5 separate regions of the Homo sapiens genome follow, and regions 2, 3, 4 and 5 are each linked to region 1. The links are contacts of gene promoters, found by promoter capture Hi-C in blood cells and fetal thymus (Javierre and others, 2016). All regions are on one chromosome and are shown on one strand. The core of a region is centred on a gene start or on the middle of the fragment in contact, and the rest is flanking DNA. Distances in the headings are between cores, read along the strand shown.

Region 1 (2,831 bases), core at 1-2,500:
CACCAGGGTGGGCGGCACCGCGTGGCCGCGCCGCGGGTTCGGGCTCTGGCGATTCAGCTCGGGCGGCTCCTCTAGCTTGGAGAAGCCGTTGGGCACCAGGATGCCGTTCACGGGCGGCGGCTGCGGCGTCGGCGGCTGGGCCAGGCTCGCTGCCGGGCGGCTGCTGCCGAAGTCAGAGCCGAGGCGCGGGGGCCTCTCGGCCGCGGCCGCCAACGGGTAGCGCTCCAAGGCCTGCGGCGCGCGCGGGGCCGCCTCGGGGCCGCCGTGGCCAAGCTGCTGCTGCTGCTGCAAAAGGATGTCCTTGGCGGAGAGCGGCGGCGGCTTGGCGGCGGCCGAGGCCGCGGCGCCGGGTGGGGAGCGACCCTCCGGGAAGCAGCCGTGCGCCCGCTTGAGCTGCCGCGCCGTCTCGATGACGAACTCGACGCGGTCGGCGCCCTCGTAGTTGACGCAGCCGCGGCAGACGGGTTCGGTGAAGTCCCAGATCATGGCCCAGGGCATGCGGGGCAGGTCACACAGGTAGCACGACTGCCGCCGGGACGCGGCCGCCACCGCCACCGCCGCGGCCATGTCCGAGGAGCCCGCGACGCCGGAGGAGGAGGCGGAGGAGGAGGAGGGGGCGCCGCCGCCGCCCCCCACCGGCACCACGCGCGCCCTCCTCCCCCCCCAACCCCGCGTCTCCCCCACCAGCGGCGGCGGCGGCCGCAAAGGCGGCGGCGGCGGCGGCAAAGCCCGCGAAGGCTCGGCGCCCGCGCAGCGCCCCCGGTGCACGAGGGGCGGCGGGCGCGAGGTGAGGGGCTGCAGCCGCGGCAGCAGTTCCCCCCGGCCGGCCCGGGCACGGGCGGGCGGCGCGGCGCGGCGGGGCGGCGGGCGCGGCGGTGGGGGCTCGGCCGGAGCCGCGGCGGGCCTCCAGACCGGGGCGAAGACGGGCCGCGCGGGCGCGGGGGAGCGCAGCAGGTCGCGGCGGCGGCCGGCACGGAGTGCGGGGCGGGGGGCGGGGAGGCCGGGGGGGCAGGGGGCGGGGGGCGGCCGCCGGGGCAGGCTCAGCCCGAGCGGCGGGGCATGCCGCGCCGGGGTGGCGGCGGCCGGGCGGCGTGGAGCTCGGGCGCGGCGCGGGCCCCGGGTCGCTCCGCCGCTCTCTCACAGCTCCTGGCGTCGCCGCTCTCCAGCGCCAGCGTCAGCGGCCAGCCCGCCTCAGCTCCGCCGCCGCCACCGTCGCTGCTGCTGCTGCCGCCGCGACCGCTCCACTTCTACAGACTTGATTCTTCGACAGTCTCGCACGGCGCCTGCGCGGGCCCCCTCCCCTCGTGCGCGTGCCCGCCCTCCCGCGCGCGCGCTCCCCCTCCCCCCGCGCGCCGAAGGAGCGCTGCCGGGAGAGCCGGCTACGCGGCGCCCGCCCGCCCGCGGGGCAGCGCAGCAGCGCAGCGCCGGTGTTCCCTTCGGAACACCGCGCAAAGTGATCGAGTGCTTTTCCTCCACTTTCCCTCACTTCGCGCCCCACCCGGCTGTCCCGACCACCCTCAGGATGTTTTCCTCTGGTGTGCCTCTGGGCCAAATCGTGCTAAAAATCATTTTTTTTCTTTTATGCAAGGACACTTTGTCACTTGGTTTCCGTCAGTCTCCTGAGAATGGGGAATTTAGGTCTAGCGTGGTTCACAGTTCTGGTTTTTTAGGAGTTATACTTGAAAGCTCAATGTCGGACACATAGCATGAAATCCGTCACTGGTGCTTTGCATTTGTCTTGGAAAGGACATACGCCCCGCCTGTCCCTTTTACTAACTAGGGAGACTGTGAATATTCCCAAGCCCAGCACCACGTGCACACGCCGCCAGCTGGCTCGCGCGTTTTCCACGGAGCCCTCTGGAGGGGAGGGAGCGCGGTTCGGACTAGCCTCTCCCGAACACCAAGTGCCGCTCTTAGCCCCGTCCAGCCCGCCCTGTTCATCGGGGGCCTCGCCGCGCCAGTCGCCCCGGCTGCCTTATGTAGGTATGCGCGGCGGGCGCGTGACGTGGGCGCGGGGCCGTGGGCGGCCGCCGCCGCGAGTGCGCACGCTCCGCGCAGACGTGCCTCGGCGCCGCTGGCACTAGGGCCTCGTGGAACGAATGCACATTCCAGGGATCCGGGGTCTACGGCCAGCGCGGCCGCGTCACAGCGCAGGCTCCACCCCCTTCGGCGAGTCTGGGCGTCGAGGCGCCGCCCCCGGGCCCGAACTTGGACTCGAGGTGGCGGGAGGCGAGGGCGCGAGTGGGGGGGGGGGGGGTCCTGCTCGCCTCCGCGAGGTTCCCGAGGGCCGTGGGGGCGACCGGCTGGCTGGCTGGCCCGCCGTCCCGCAGGGCGGGCCGCCGACGGAGGCGGACTTTTGCCCTATATGCCACCCAGGCCGGGATGAGCCCGGCCTGCAGGTCTGCCACCGTTGGCAGCCTCAGACTCAGCCCAGACTGAATTGAATGTTTGAGTTTCGCACTTTTATCGGGAGGAGGAGCTAGTGTGTGTTATGGTAAATCACTTTGGGCTGGTCGTTAGTCTCCCTAATACACGTAGGCTTAGTCGCTCTTCAATTGGGACTTTTACACTTAAGCTCTTTAAGGGCGGCCTCTGGAGCTGCTTTTGTTGGGAACACAGGCCCACAACTCTCCCTTGAGACTGGAATGAGCTGGTTAAGTGTGGGAAGAACAGGGTACTAATTATATTATCTTTCCTACAACTGGATTGGTAGGTGGAGAGAAAAAAAAAATCATGCTGACGTTTCTCTCTAGTCGTTGCTATTGAAAATACCAGGTTGCTTCAAAGGATTAACCACAAGGAAGAGGAAAAACACCCTTAGAGAAACAGTG
Region 2 (2,831 bases), core at 241-2,740, 240 kb after region 1:
GAGTGGCTCACCTGAGGTCAGGAGCTCGAGACCAGCCTGGGCAACATGGCAAAACCCTGTCTCTGCAAAAAAATACAAAAATTAGCTGAGAGTTGTAGCATGCACCTGTAATCCCAGCTACTCGGAAGGCTGAGGCACAAGAATCGCTTGAACCTGAGAGGTGGAGGTTGCAGTAAGCTGAGATCGTGCCACTGCACTCCAGTGTTGGTAATAGAGCCAGACGCCATCTCAAAATAAATAAATAAGTAAATAATTTAAAAAATTTTTTAATTAAAATAAAAGCCAAGTGTGGTTGGGTGCACCTGTGGTCCCAAGTACTCAGGAGGCTGAAGCCAAAGGATGGCTGGAGCCCAGGAGCCAGAGGCTACAGTGAGCCACAATCATGCCACTGCACTCCAGCCTGGGTAACAGAGCAAAACCCTGTCCAAAAAAAAAAAAAAAGAATTACATTTTCTTAGAAATTCACAGGAGATGACAAAGTAGAAAAACATATATATGTGTGTTTTGTTAGAAAACACTTGAGGACTACACATCTGAAGGGAAGGCTGAACTGGCATGATTGGCATGGCGACATCATCATGGATCGGTGGGTGGCCCACCCAGGCCAGAGGGACTGTCTCCAGGAAGGTGAATCATGGTTTTCCTAGCAGTTTGCACCACTGCCCAATCTTCCTTATCATTCTTTCACTTCCCCTTTTATCCACAATCAGAAGCAGTGGACAAAAAGAAGGGAAGGAGGAGCCCGAGGACTCCAGGACTCATAGCGGAACTGAAGCCACCGTCACTGCAGGGCAGGGAAGCACATGACCTCTGGCAGGAAGAGGGGTTAGAAACTCCAGCCCCAGGTTTGAATCCTGAGGCCCCTAAGAATGTTTTCACTTTCAACAGCCATCACCTGCAGCTCTTTATCAGCAGTATTGCCTGCAGAGTAGTACAGCTGCTTTGCTTGCACAGAGAAGGAACCTATAGCCTGCAGGAACATATGTCCCCCTGGGGCAGCCCTTAACAGATGACCAATGAATGGCTGATGATGAGAGCATGCAGCCCCAGCTCCTTGCCTTGGGTGGGGCAGCTCTGAGGCACTTATACTTTAGAGCTGCCCTGGGGACAGGACTCCCTACAGAATTTGCAAGACCCAGTGCAAAATGAAAAAGCAGATCCCTTGTTCAAACAGTATGAAGAATTTCAAGACAGCAACAACAGCAGAGCATCAACCCAAGTGTAAGGCCTAAGTGTGGGGCCCGTGTGACTGCACAGGCGCACGGCCCTGCAGCCATCCCTGCTTGCAGAATCAGGTGTAAGCCACCCTCTGAGATCATCCCTGGCCCCTTCCCAGACCAGCTTCCCCAACTCTTTTACCAGGTTCCTCCAGGGAGCCCTTCCTTACAAATCTCCTGCACACAAATCCTCATCTGAGAGTCTGCTTCTGTGTCCCCAGTTAAGATAGATCTTTGGGCATGCTACCGCAGCATCTTTAAACCTCGGTTTGCTCTGTAAACCAAAAAATATCTGAGAGGAATCTCAACCAATTTAGGAAGTTTATTTTACCAAGGTTAAGGACACATGCCCTGGAGGAAGGTCTGTGCCTTTCTCCAAAGATGATTTTGAAGGCTTATTTAAAGGGGAAAGGGCAGATATTGGAAGAAAAGGAAGAAATTTTTTAAAGGTGTGGGTAGGTAAGAGACAAACTTTGCATTCTTTTGAGTCTTTGTTCAGCTTTTCATTAAATAGACAATTTACATGTGAGGGGGTGGAGGAATATTCACTTATGCCTTCATTTTTACATCAGAAAAAAACAATCAGATATGCTTTTGTCTCAGGTGAGCAGAGGGATGACTTTGAGTTCTGTCCTTTGTCCTGCACCCATGAAGATAAGCTATCCATTTACATTGTCAGGTAATTCAACAGAACCATTTTAGGGTAAAGATCTTGCAGACCACAAGGAATTTCCTGGTGGGCAAATTGTGAAAGGGATCTGTAGCTTTTTTATCTTTGTAGCTATCTTATTTAGGAATAGAATGGGAGGCAGGTTTGCCTGACGCAGTTCCCGGCTTGACTTTTCCCTTGGATTAGTGATTTTGCGGTCCTGAGATTTATTTTCCTTTCACACCTTCATATATAAAATTCGGGGTGGGGGAATAGAGTGTATTTTGTAGAGCTGTTGGGAGAATTGTGTGAGATAATGCACGCAAAGTGCTTAGTACCATGCCAAGCACGTAACAAATGTTCAGTGAATGCTAGTTAACATCATTTTTATCGTCATCACCACTAAAATTAAGCATCCTTGCCTTAACAAGGGAAATAAGAGTAAATATAACCCTGCCTGTTCCCTCTTTCCCTACCCTGGGAAGTCCATGCCCAAGCCTTTGGCCCAAGTTTCATCAGTAAAATTTTTTGGGGGGAACGGAGTCTCACTTTGTTGCTCAGGCTGGAGTGCAGCTCACTGCAAGCTCCACCTCCCAGGTTCAAGTATATCTTCTCCCTCAGCCTCCTGACTAGCTGGGACTACAGGCGCACACCACCACGCCCGGCTAATTTTTTATTTTTAGTAGAGATGGGGTTTCACCATATTGGCCAGGCTGGTCTTCAACTCCTAACCTCCTGATCCACCTGCATTGGCCTCCCAAAATGCTGGGATTACAGGCGTGAGCCACTTGACAAAGACAGAGGTGGCTGAGAATGAAAGCAGAGAAGTCCCTTTGACAAAACAATTATAAAAGAGCAAATCTGATTTAAGGGTGCTTAAAGCCCTGTTTTCCTTGGCCAAAACAAATTAAGTTTCTTTTTTTTTTTTTTTTTGAGACAGAGTCTCGCTCTGTCACCCAGGCTGG
Region 3 (2,831 bases), core at 211-2,710, 170 kb after region 1:
CATTTAGAGCCTGGAAAAACTTAGTCGAAACCTAAAATGAACTGAACCTTGGCCCGTGGATGTTTCCAAGTAAATTGAAACCCTCATCCACACCATTAGCCCAGTGCTTCTGCAACCTAGTGATGCTTACCCACTGTGACTCCTCGCGTCAGTATACCCCGGGATGTGTGGAGGCGTTTAAAGGGCTGATGACTTAGAGCTGGTGGTGACATTTTGGAACCTATGGTGCCAGCCACCATTAGGGAAATCCTACACTGATTCATTGGCTCTTCTAGGTAAGGGTTTCAAGAAGCAAGGTCTTCTTGGTAGGAATCTAAGAGAAGAGGCATCCTGGTTGTGTTGGACAGAACATGGTCTTTGCAGCCAGACAAATCTTGATTTAGTACGGACTCCAGAATGTCTGTGTAGACAGGATTTGGGGCAGCAATAATCTCAATGAAAGGGAGATGACAGGGAAGCACATATTGAAGCTACATTTTTGCCTCCTGTAGGCTCTTCCGACTTAGATTGTGTGTTTATTTGGGATAATTGTGGAGAAGGGGGCTGCTACAGATGATGGTTACAACGAAAGCCTCCCAAACCACCCCTTGATAATGACACTGTCTGGATTCAAATCAGCATCTACCACTTACCGTCTATGTGACCTTGGGCGAGTAACTTAGCATCTCCGAGCTACTGTTTTCTTATTTGTAAAATGAGAAGAATAATTCCACTCTGGCAGGGCTTTTGTGGGGGATTACATTGGATAACATATGGGAAAGGGCTTAGCACAATGCAGGCATATAATAGGCTCTCAACATATGGAAGTCTCTTTCCTTCTTTCCATCGCTGGTCCCCAGATGTCTCAGGATCCTAATGAAGTATCCAGATGAGGACTGAGATCTAGAAAGTTCTTTTTTTTTAAGTTAGATATTTGTGGGGGTTTGCTTTTGGATTTTGTTGCCCACCGTTAAGTGTATTTCAAGGGGACACTACATCTGCCCTGCACATTGTAAGTCCAGAATACCATGCAGCTGGCCTACTTGAAAGGGAGCCTTCACAGGCTGAACTACACAGGCAGCACCAGTCCTGAGGATGAAAAAGCCACCATAGCAAATGAATTAGGTCAGCGGCTTTCCTAAAGTCTAGAGGCAGCAGAATCTTCCTACAGTGGGATTTTTTAATGGTTTTTTTCTCCTGGTTTTTGTAGTGTGTGTGTGTGTGTTTCCTTTCTCACTGAACTCCTGGAGGCTGGACAAGACACAGGATGATAGAATAGAAGGAAAAAGAAGGAGACATTATAAGTACATGCCCCAGTACCAAGTTCTTTGCAAGGAATCTCTGGAGACGACTGGTGGAACTCATGGGGTTGGCAGAAAACTACTGACTTTGCATGGCCAACACTCATTGGTTCATTCATGCATTCAGGAAGCATTTGCTGAGGGAGGCTGACAGCTCCCTGGGAGATGTTAATACATGACATAGCCCCAGTCCCTACATTCTAATGAGTTGTTCCAAATAACAAGTGTTGGGACTCAGAAAACAATACCCCAAAAGGAAGGCTTAGCCTCAGAAGCAAAAGTTTTTCTCTGATCTTCTCCTGCCCTCCTATCTCTTGCCCCTCATTCTCCCCGAGGCCAGCCATAGAAACCAGAATCCCTCTTCCCCAAGGCGGATATAAAAACCAGAACCCCTTTTCCCCAAAGCCAGCCATAAAACCTAAAATACAACTCTAGCTTTCCTTCCACCTTTCTGTGTAAAAACTGGCCATAAAGACCTCATCTAACCTATCTTATTTGACTGTAGGTCATAAGACCCCCACTCCAGAAAGGATCCTGTCCCATACCCAGAAGGAAGGAATGCGGCATGGATGCCTGGAAGAATCTAGGCAGACAGGCCTTGCTGCGCTTTCTACTCAGTCTAGTCTAGCATTCCATCAGACCCTTTTTGTCCAGTCATATTTCTATGTGACTATCCATACTGTCTTGAACCTAAGTGTAAAAGTGGACAATTTCCCCTCTATCTTTGGGTCTTCATTCTGAAGGCTCCTGTGTATACACATTAAATAAATGTGTATGCCTTTTTTCCTATTAATCAATCTTCTTCATGTCAGTGATTTTCCAGTGAACCTTTGGGAAGAAATGCTGGCTCAATTAGAAATAGAAATTTGCAAGCCAGGTGCGGTGGCTCACGCCTGGAATCCTAGCACTTTGGGAAGCCAAGGTCAGGATCACCTGAAGTCAGGAGTTTGAGACCAGCCTGGCCAACATGGTGAAACCCTGTCTCTACCAAATATACAAAATTAGCCAGGCTTGGTGTTGCCTGCCTGTAGTCCCCACTACTCAGGAGACTGAGACAGGAGAATCGCTTGAACCCGGGAGGCAGAGGTTGCAGTGAGCCAAGATCACACCACTGCACTCCAGCCTGGGTGACAAGACCAAAACTCCATCAAAAAAAAAAAAAAAGCAAGGAAAGAAAGAAAGAAAAAAGAAGGGAAGGAAGGAAAGAAGGAAGGAAGGAAGGAAGAAAGAAAAGAAAAGAAAAGAAAAGAAAAGAAAAGAAAAGAAAAAAGAAAAGAAAAGAAAGAAAAGAAAAGAAAAGAAAAAAATAAATTTGCAAAAAGATCCGCTATTAGACCTAGGCCAGTGGATCATGAAGCCACACACACCACACTTTGTTTCCTTGCAGGGATCCAGTCCCTCCCCTGAGAATGCAGGCTCCTGACTTCTGGTCTCCCACACCCTCGGTGCTATGCAGTGTCAGCCCAGTATCTGGCTCACAGCAGTCCTAGTGAGCATCTCTTGGGGAGTCCCCTTTACCACCTGTGTATTACAGCTTCCCAAGGATTAGGA
Region 4 (2,831 bases), core at 148-2,647, 150 kb after region 1:
GAACAGGGCAACGGCTAAAAGATGAAGGGTGTCCAGACGCCGATGAGGGATCCCAGGCCCTGGAGAAAGACGGTTACAGGATACCAAGATTCCTGGTGGTTTTCCAGGGCATTCCAGTATTAGAGCCCTCACCCTCCTTCCCGAGGTTCTGCGCTGATCCAGTGCAGAAGCTGCATGCACTGGAGAAATGGCTAACTCTGTGCCCAGGGCTGGACGGAGCAGCATCGCAGATCAAAAGGCCGCCACCCCCAAGAAGTCCATGAAAGGCAATCACCCCTCAAAGCAAACGCTCTTCTTTCCAGGACTCACAGAGATTATCAAGTCCCAGCTCTTGCACCCCCCAACATGCCCTTTCCCTTCCTGCCTCATTACTCTGTTGAAGTTCCATTCCTGTTCCACAACCACCCAGATCTCTCCCGTGCCTCTGCCTTCCTTCCCAATGAGAAGCAGGGGGAATGCTGGGTGCCCATTCTTTAAAACAAACAGGAAGTGGGGGAGGGGGAGCTGGGAGGATTGAGGGGGAAGGGAGAGAATGGCATTCAAGGACTGGAGCTTGACATTCTAATGCTTTGGGCAGGAAGGGAGGAGGCCACCATGCTTTACTAGGTCATGGAGAGGCGGAGCAGGCCTTTGAGCACACGCTCAGGCCAGGGCACCACAGTGCAGGTTGCTCAGAGGCTCCCCGGGCCTAGAGCACGGGCATCAGTTTCACCCACTCTGGGCATTTGCTGCCAACTCGGGAATACCCTTCACTTTTCCATTACTTCTGCATGGCAAATATATGTATAGATATTATCGTGTGTGTATGTGTGTGTGTGTGTGTGTGTGTGTACAATCAAAACTTATCCTCTGTAGCGAAAAAAAAAAGTATTAATTATGTTTTGGATTGTCTTCATAGAGATCTGAGAGCATAATTTAAGTAAATACTGTAGTCATGACTAGCAATGCTATATTATTCTTATTTGAATTTTAACCCTAAGAATTTTCCAGTCTGCTAGCCAAACCAACACTTGGGCACATTTATAGTTCTCAAAAGCTAAACTCATCCCAGTGTTCTCCTGACTACTATGAGAGGTTTGGAGTTCTGGAGTTCGGACATGACACGGTTTCCCTGCATGTGTGATGAGACGTGTGTGGATGTGTCAGAAGATCGGCCTTTGGGTCAATGCGTATTTTGGGTGCTGCTTGCTTCTTGCTCCTTTGGGTGTGCCCAAGTCCCATGGCCTCTTTCAAGAGTTCTGAGCAAACCCATTCCTGTTCCCCTGTCTCATGGTTCGCCAGACATTACTGGGGCAGGAGAAGGGCTGTCAGCTGGGGCAGTCAGCAAGAGTGACTCTCTGATTGCCCTGGCTAGGAGCCCCTTCCTGATACCCAGGTAAGAGCAAACTGTTCCTTGAACTGTGCACACAGGGCATGGAAACCCTGCTTGTCAATGGATTGAAATGAAAATCCCAAATTCTACACTTTCTGTGACAAACAAGCCACTGGGCTTCCTTTGACTTCTTCGTTGTTGTGGACTATGATTCATAACAGTTTAGTATGTTATGCAACTAGATAATCATAACTATATGTGTGTAATATAGCATACTCTATATGTATGTAGTATAGCATACTCTATATGTATGTAGTATAGCATACTACATATGTATGTAGTATAGCATGAACACACACACACACAAAATGTTAGGATGGTGTGTTCCAACACAAAGGCATGCACACTCACAACCACACAGCAACAACCCCTCTAAGCGTTCCACAGCCACCAGTGTCTCAATCAGCCTCGGGCCGCCCTATCGCCTCCTCGCCTCCCGAAGTCTGTTCCATGCACTCGTAATTGTATCGTCTGCATTATCGGGCACATTCCTTTTTTTTTTTTTAAGGTTACTGAAGTGAACTAATTTATTTGGTCTGGTCATTTTAGCACCAACAATTATAGAAGAATCGGCCAATTATTTTTATTTTTATTTATTTTATTGTTTTTTTATTATACTTTAAGTTCTAGGGTACATGTGCACAACGTGCAGGTTTGTTACATATGTGTACATGTGCTATGTTGGTGTGCTGCACCCATTAACTCGTCATTTACATTAGGTATATCTCCTAATGCTATCCCTCCCCCGACCCCACAACAGGCCCCGGTGTGTGATGTTCCCCACCCTGTGTCCAGGTGTTCTCATTGTTCGATTCCCACCTATGAGTGAGAACATGTGGTGCTTGGTTTTTTGTCCTTGTGATAGTTTGCTGAGAATGATGGTTTCCAGCTTCATCCATGTCCCTACAAAGGGCATGAACTCATCCTTTTTTATGGCTGCATAGTATTCCATGGTGTCTATGTGCCACATTTTCTTAACCCAGTCTATCACTGATGGACATTTGGGTTGGTTCCAAGTCTTTGCTATTGTATCGGGCACATTCTTGCCAGCAAAGAATTTCCATTTTGACTAGGTGTCAATGGAAACAGCATCTTCTCCTTACCATTTTATACATCTGATAACTGAAAAACTCTCCGAAGACTAGACTCTGGCACCACACATTGTAAATCCTGTTTCCACTTTCCTATCAGCCTGGCTCTGGGGACACGGGCCACAGGACATGTTTATGCTGGGATATGACCTCAGGCCCTGTCCTCCCTGTGGAAATGCCACAAGAGCCAGCACAGGGGGCTGAAGGTTGTCCCTGCAAGCCACTTCTACATCAGAACAGCTGGCGATAGCTTCATACAGGCTGAAGAGACTGCAAATTGCATCAATGTTCCACCAAATTCAAAATAAATATCTCCCCGACTTAATTTTCACTTAGCCAGATCCCAAAAATGTCCAAAGCCACTTCAA
Region 5 (2,831 bases), core at 190-2,689, 130 kb after region 1:
TGAGGAGGAATGCTATAGAAAATAAACAAACAGGCCGGGCGCGGTAGCTCACGCCTGTAATCCCAGCACTCTGGGAGGCTGAGGCAGGTGGATCAAGAGGTCAGGAGATTGACACCAACCTGACTAACCCGGTGAAACCCTGTCTATACTAAAAAATACAAAAACTTAGGCAGGTGTGGTGGCACACGCCTGTAGTTCCAGCTACTTGGTAGGCTGAGGCAGGAGAATGGCGTGAAGCCGGGAGGTGGAGCTTGCAGTGAGCCGAGATCACGCCACTGCACTCCAGCCTGGGCAACAGAGCGAGACTCCATCTCAAAACAAAAAAAAAGAACATAAACAAACAAAAAACAGAGTGAGAGAAGGGAGACCAGGGATGCTAAGGCCAAGCAGATGGGGTCAGTATTGCAGGTAAGTTCAACAAAGGTCAGGGTGGGCATTGAGCAGTGAGGTCTGAGCAGGCACTGGGAGGGGAGGAGTGGCCAGAGCCCTATCAGGGCGAAGAATGTTGCAGACAGAAAGAACAAGTAGGGTCAAGGCGCGGTGGCTCACACCTGTAATCCCAGCACTTTGGGAGGCTGAGGCAGGTGGATCACCTGAGGTCAGGAGCTCAAGACCAGCCTGGCCAACATGGCGAAACCCCATCTCTACTAAAAATACAAAATTAGCTAAGAGTGGTGGTGCATGCCTATAATCCCAGGTACTTGGGAGGCTGAGGCAGGAGAACCACTTGAACCTGGGAGGCGGGGGTTACAGTGAGCCGAGATCAGACCATTGCACTCCAGCCTGAGCGACAAGAGCAAAACTGCACTAAAAAAAAAAAAAAAAAAAGGAAAGGAAGGAAGAAGAAAGAGAAAGAAAGAGAGAAAGAGAAAAAGAAAGAAAAAGAAAGGAAGAAAGAGAGAAAGGAAGAAAGAGAGAAAGAAAGAGAGAGAAAGAAAGAAAGAAAGAAAGAAAGAAAGAAAGAAAGAAAGAAAGAGAGAAAGAAAGAGAGAAAGAAGTAGGGCAAAGGCCCTACAGTGGTAGCATGTCTGGCTTTTTGGAGGAATCGCAAGGAGGCCAGTACTGCTGAACTGGAGTCAAACTGGGCAGGTGGTAGGTCATAAGATTGGAGAGATGGTGGAGGTGGGTGTAATGATTTCTGCTCTTCTCTGGGTGAGCCAGAAGCTTCTGTAGGGTCCCGAGCAGGTGTAGCACTACCTTACATTTGCAAAGAATCACTCTGGCTGGTGGGTTGAAGGTAGATGCAGACCTATCGGAGGTCACAGTTGTCATCCAGGGGCAAAAAATGGCAGTGGCTCAGAGTGACAACAGTGGAGCTGGATATATTTTGTGGGAATAAGTGGGATTTCCTGACAGTTTGGATGTGGAGTAAAAAAGAAAGAAGTCAAGGATGACTCTGAGGTTTGGGGCCTGAGCCACTAGGAGAATGAAATGCTCCCAGCTGAGATAGGAAGGCTGTGGCTGGAACAGGTTTGGTGGGAGGCAGCCTAGGGGAATAGGGAGCCCAGTTTCGGGCATGTTGAGTTGCAGATGTTCATTAGCTTCCTGGAGATGTCAAGAAAGTCCTTGGATCTATTATGAGTATCGGAAATATTTTAGAACATCTGTAAACAAGTAAGACAAGATTTCAGGTGTTTCAGCCCATGTTACCATAAAAAATTTGAAGCATTAAAATAAAAAATGTTTAAAAAATTTTTAAAAAGAGATTTCAGATGTAAGCTTCATTCATCAGGGCAACAAAAATGGGTATCAATCTTCTTGTTTCCCGTAAGACACGTCATGGAATAAGTGCCATGGTATATTCAGTACCACAGAAATTCCTGACTGGGATGGGCAGGAGAAAGGAGGGAAGTCACCCAGAAGCAAGAGAGGAAGCCAGTATAGGATTAGTAATTTTTGTTCCAGATAATCAAGGACTGGGTAAATACATGCAAAGAAACCTATGTTAAAATGAACGTAAATACCTTATCTGGAAGGACAAGTCAAATCTCACATACAGGCCTGGAAATAAAAAGCTTGATTAATTTCACATTAGGTTACCAAAACTCTTGGTACTTAACAGTTAACCAGAAATTAACCAGAGAGCCAAAAAGTAGATTATCGGTAATTCTTCTGTGAATTAAGAAGGAATGGGCAGTAGAGGCTGGGCGCGGTGGATCTCGCCTGTAATCCCAGCACTTTGGGAGGCCGATGCAGGCGGATCATGAGGTCAGAAGATCGACACCATCGTGGCTAACACGGTGAAACCCCGTCTCTACTAAAAATAACAAAAAATTAGCCAGGCGTAGTGACGGGCGCCTATAGTCCCAGCCACTCGGGAGGCTGAGGCAGGCGAATGGCGTGAACCGGGAGGCGGAGCTTGCAGTGAGCCAAGATCAGGCCACTGCACTCCAGCCTGGGCAACAGAACGGAGCGAGACTCAGTCTCAAAAAAAAAAAAAAAAAAAGAAGGAATGGGCAGTAGAATTGTTTTTCTGTAATACCTGCTCATACCAAATTTACTTTTAAGTGTCAGCAAATTTCTTGGCTAATTATCACAAGTCTCAGAAAAACGACGTGGCTATATTTCAATAATTGGAGCAAGAATTTTAGGTAGGTCACCGCCCGCAGCCCGTCCTCTCTGAGCCCAAGCCACCCCGTGCACTTCCGTTTAGTATGTCTACTTTGAGATGCATGGAAATGAAACCCGTCAATTCAGATCTTGGGAGATCTCCAGCCAGGGATGTGAGGTGTCAAGTATGAAATAATCACAAAGACGTTGGAAATAAGCTTCACCACCTCATTCTGAGCCAAGTTCAGAAAGTTCATCTAAAATGCCAAGAATGATGCCGG

The links. Contacts are between HindIII fragments. The CHiCAGO score rates a contact against its expected background, and 5 or more counts as called.
Region 2: a fragment that was not itself captured here is called in contact with the fragment with the promoter of IRF2BP2 in region 1 in 11 of 17 cell types (M2 macrophages, M0 macrophages, M1 macrophages and 8 more); the score reaches 20.4 in M2 macrophages.
Region 3: a contact is called between a fragment that was not itself captured here and the fragment with the promoter of IRF2BP2 in region 1, in 1 of 17 cell types (monocytes). The highest score is 5.4, in monocytes.
Region 4: a contact is called between a fragment that was not itself captured here and the fragment with the promoter of IRF2BP2 in region 1, in 2 of 17 cell types (total CD8 T cells and naive CD8 T cells). The highest score is 9.9, in total CD8 T cells.
Region 5: a contact is called between a fragment that was not itself captured here and the fragment with the promoter of IRF2BP2 in region 1, in 11 of 17 cell types (erythroblasts, megakaryocytes, activated CD4 T cells and 8 more). The highest score is 8.5, in erythroblasts.

What each region holds. Positions count from the first base shown.
Region 1 is chr1:234,608,928-234,611,758 of GRCh38, forward strand. It overlaps IRF2BP2 (interferon regulatory factor 2 binding protein 2), which reads right to left and starts at 1,251. Exons shown (of 2, transcript NM_182972.3): 1 at 1-1,251. The coding sequence starts at 567. RefSeq lists silencers at 66-345, 586-665, 1,046-1,145, 1,206-1,395, 1,876-2,475 and enhancers at 726-1,423, 1,526-1,625. The HindIII fragment of the contact is 9,061 bases long and covers 1-2,831 here.
Region 2 is chr1:234,850,966-234,853,796 of GRCh38, forward strand. All of the region lies in intron 2 of LOC107985365 (a long non-coding RNA gene), which reads right to left. Among named protein-coding and RNA genes, the nearest start is that of LINC02961, 92 kb to the left of the region's middle. RefSeq lists an enhancer at 577-871. The HindIII fragment of the contact is 4,019 bases long and covers 1-2,831 here.
Region 3 is chr1:234,781,577-234,784,407 of GRCh38, forward strand. All of the region lies in intron 1 of LOC124904557 (a long non-coding RNA gene), which reads right to left. Among named protein-coding and RNA genes, the nearest start is that of LINC02961, 23 kb to the left of the region's middle. The HindIII fragment of the contact is 5,487 bases long and covers 1-2,831 here.
Region 4 is chr1:234,760,016-234,762,846 of GRCh38, forward strand. The region is part of intron 1 of LOC107985364 (a long non-coding RNA gene); the gene reads left to right. It overlaps LINC02961 (long intergenic non-protein coding RNA 2961), which reads right to left and starts at 41. Exons shown (of 1, transcript NR_148962.1): 1 at 1-41. RefSeq lists enhancers at 563-1,142, 1,143-1,720. The HindIII fragment of the contact is 3,834 bases long and covers 1-2,831 here.
Region 5 is chr1:234,740,140-234,742,970 of GRCh38, forward strand. No RefSeq gene overlaps it. Among named protein-coding and RNA genes, the nearest start is that of LINC01132, 18 kb to the left of the region's middle. The HindIII fragment of the contact is 555 bases long and covers 1,163-1,717 here.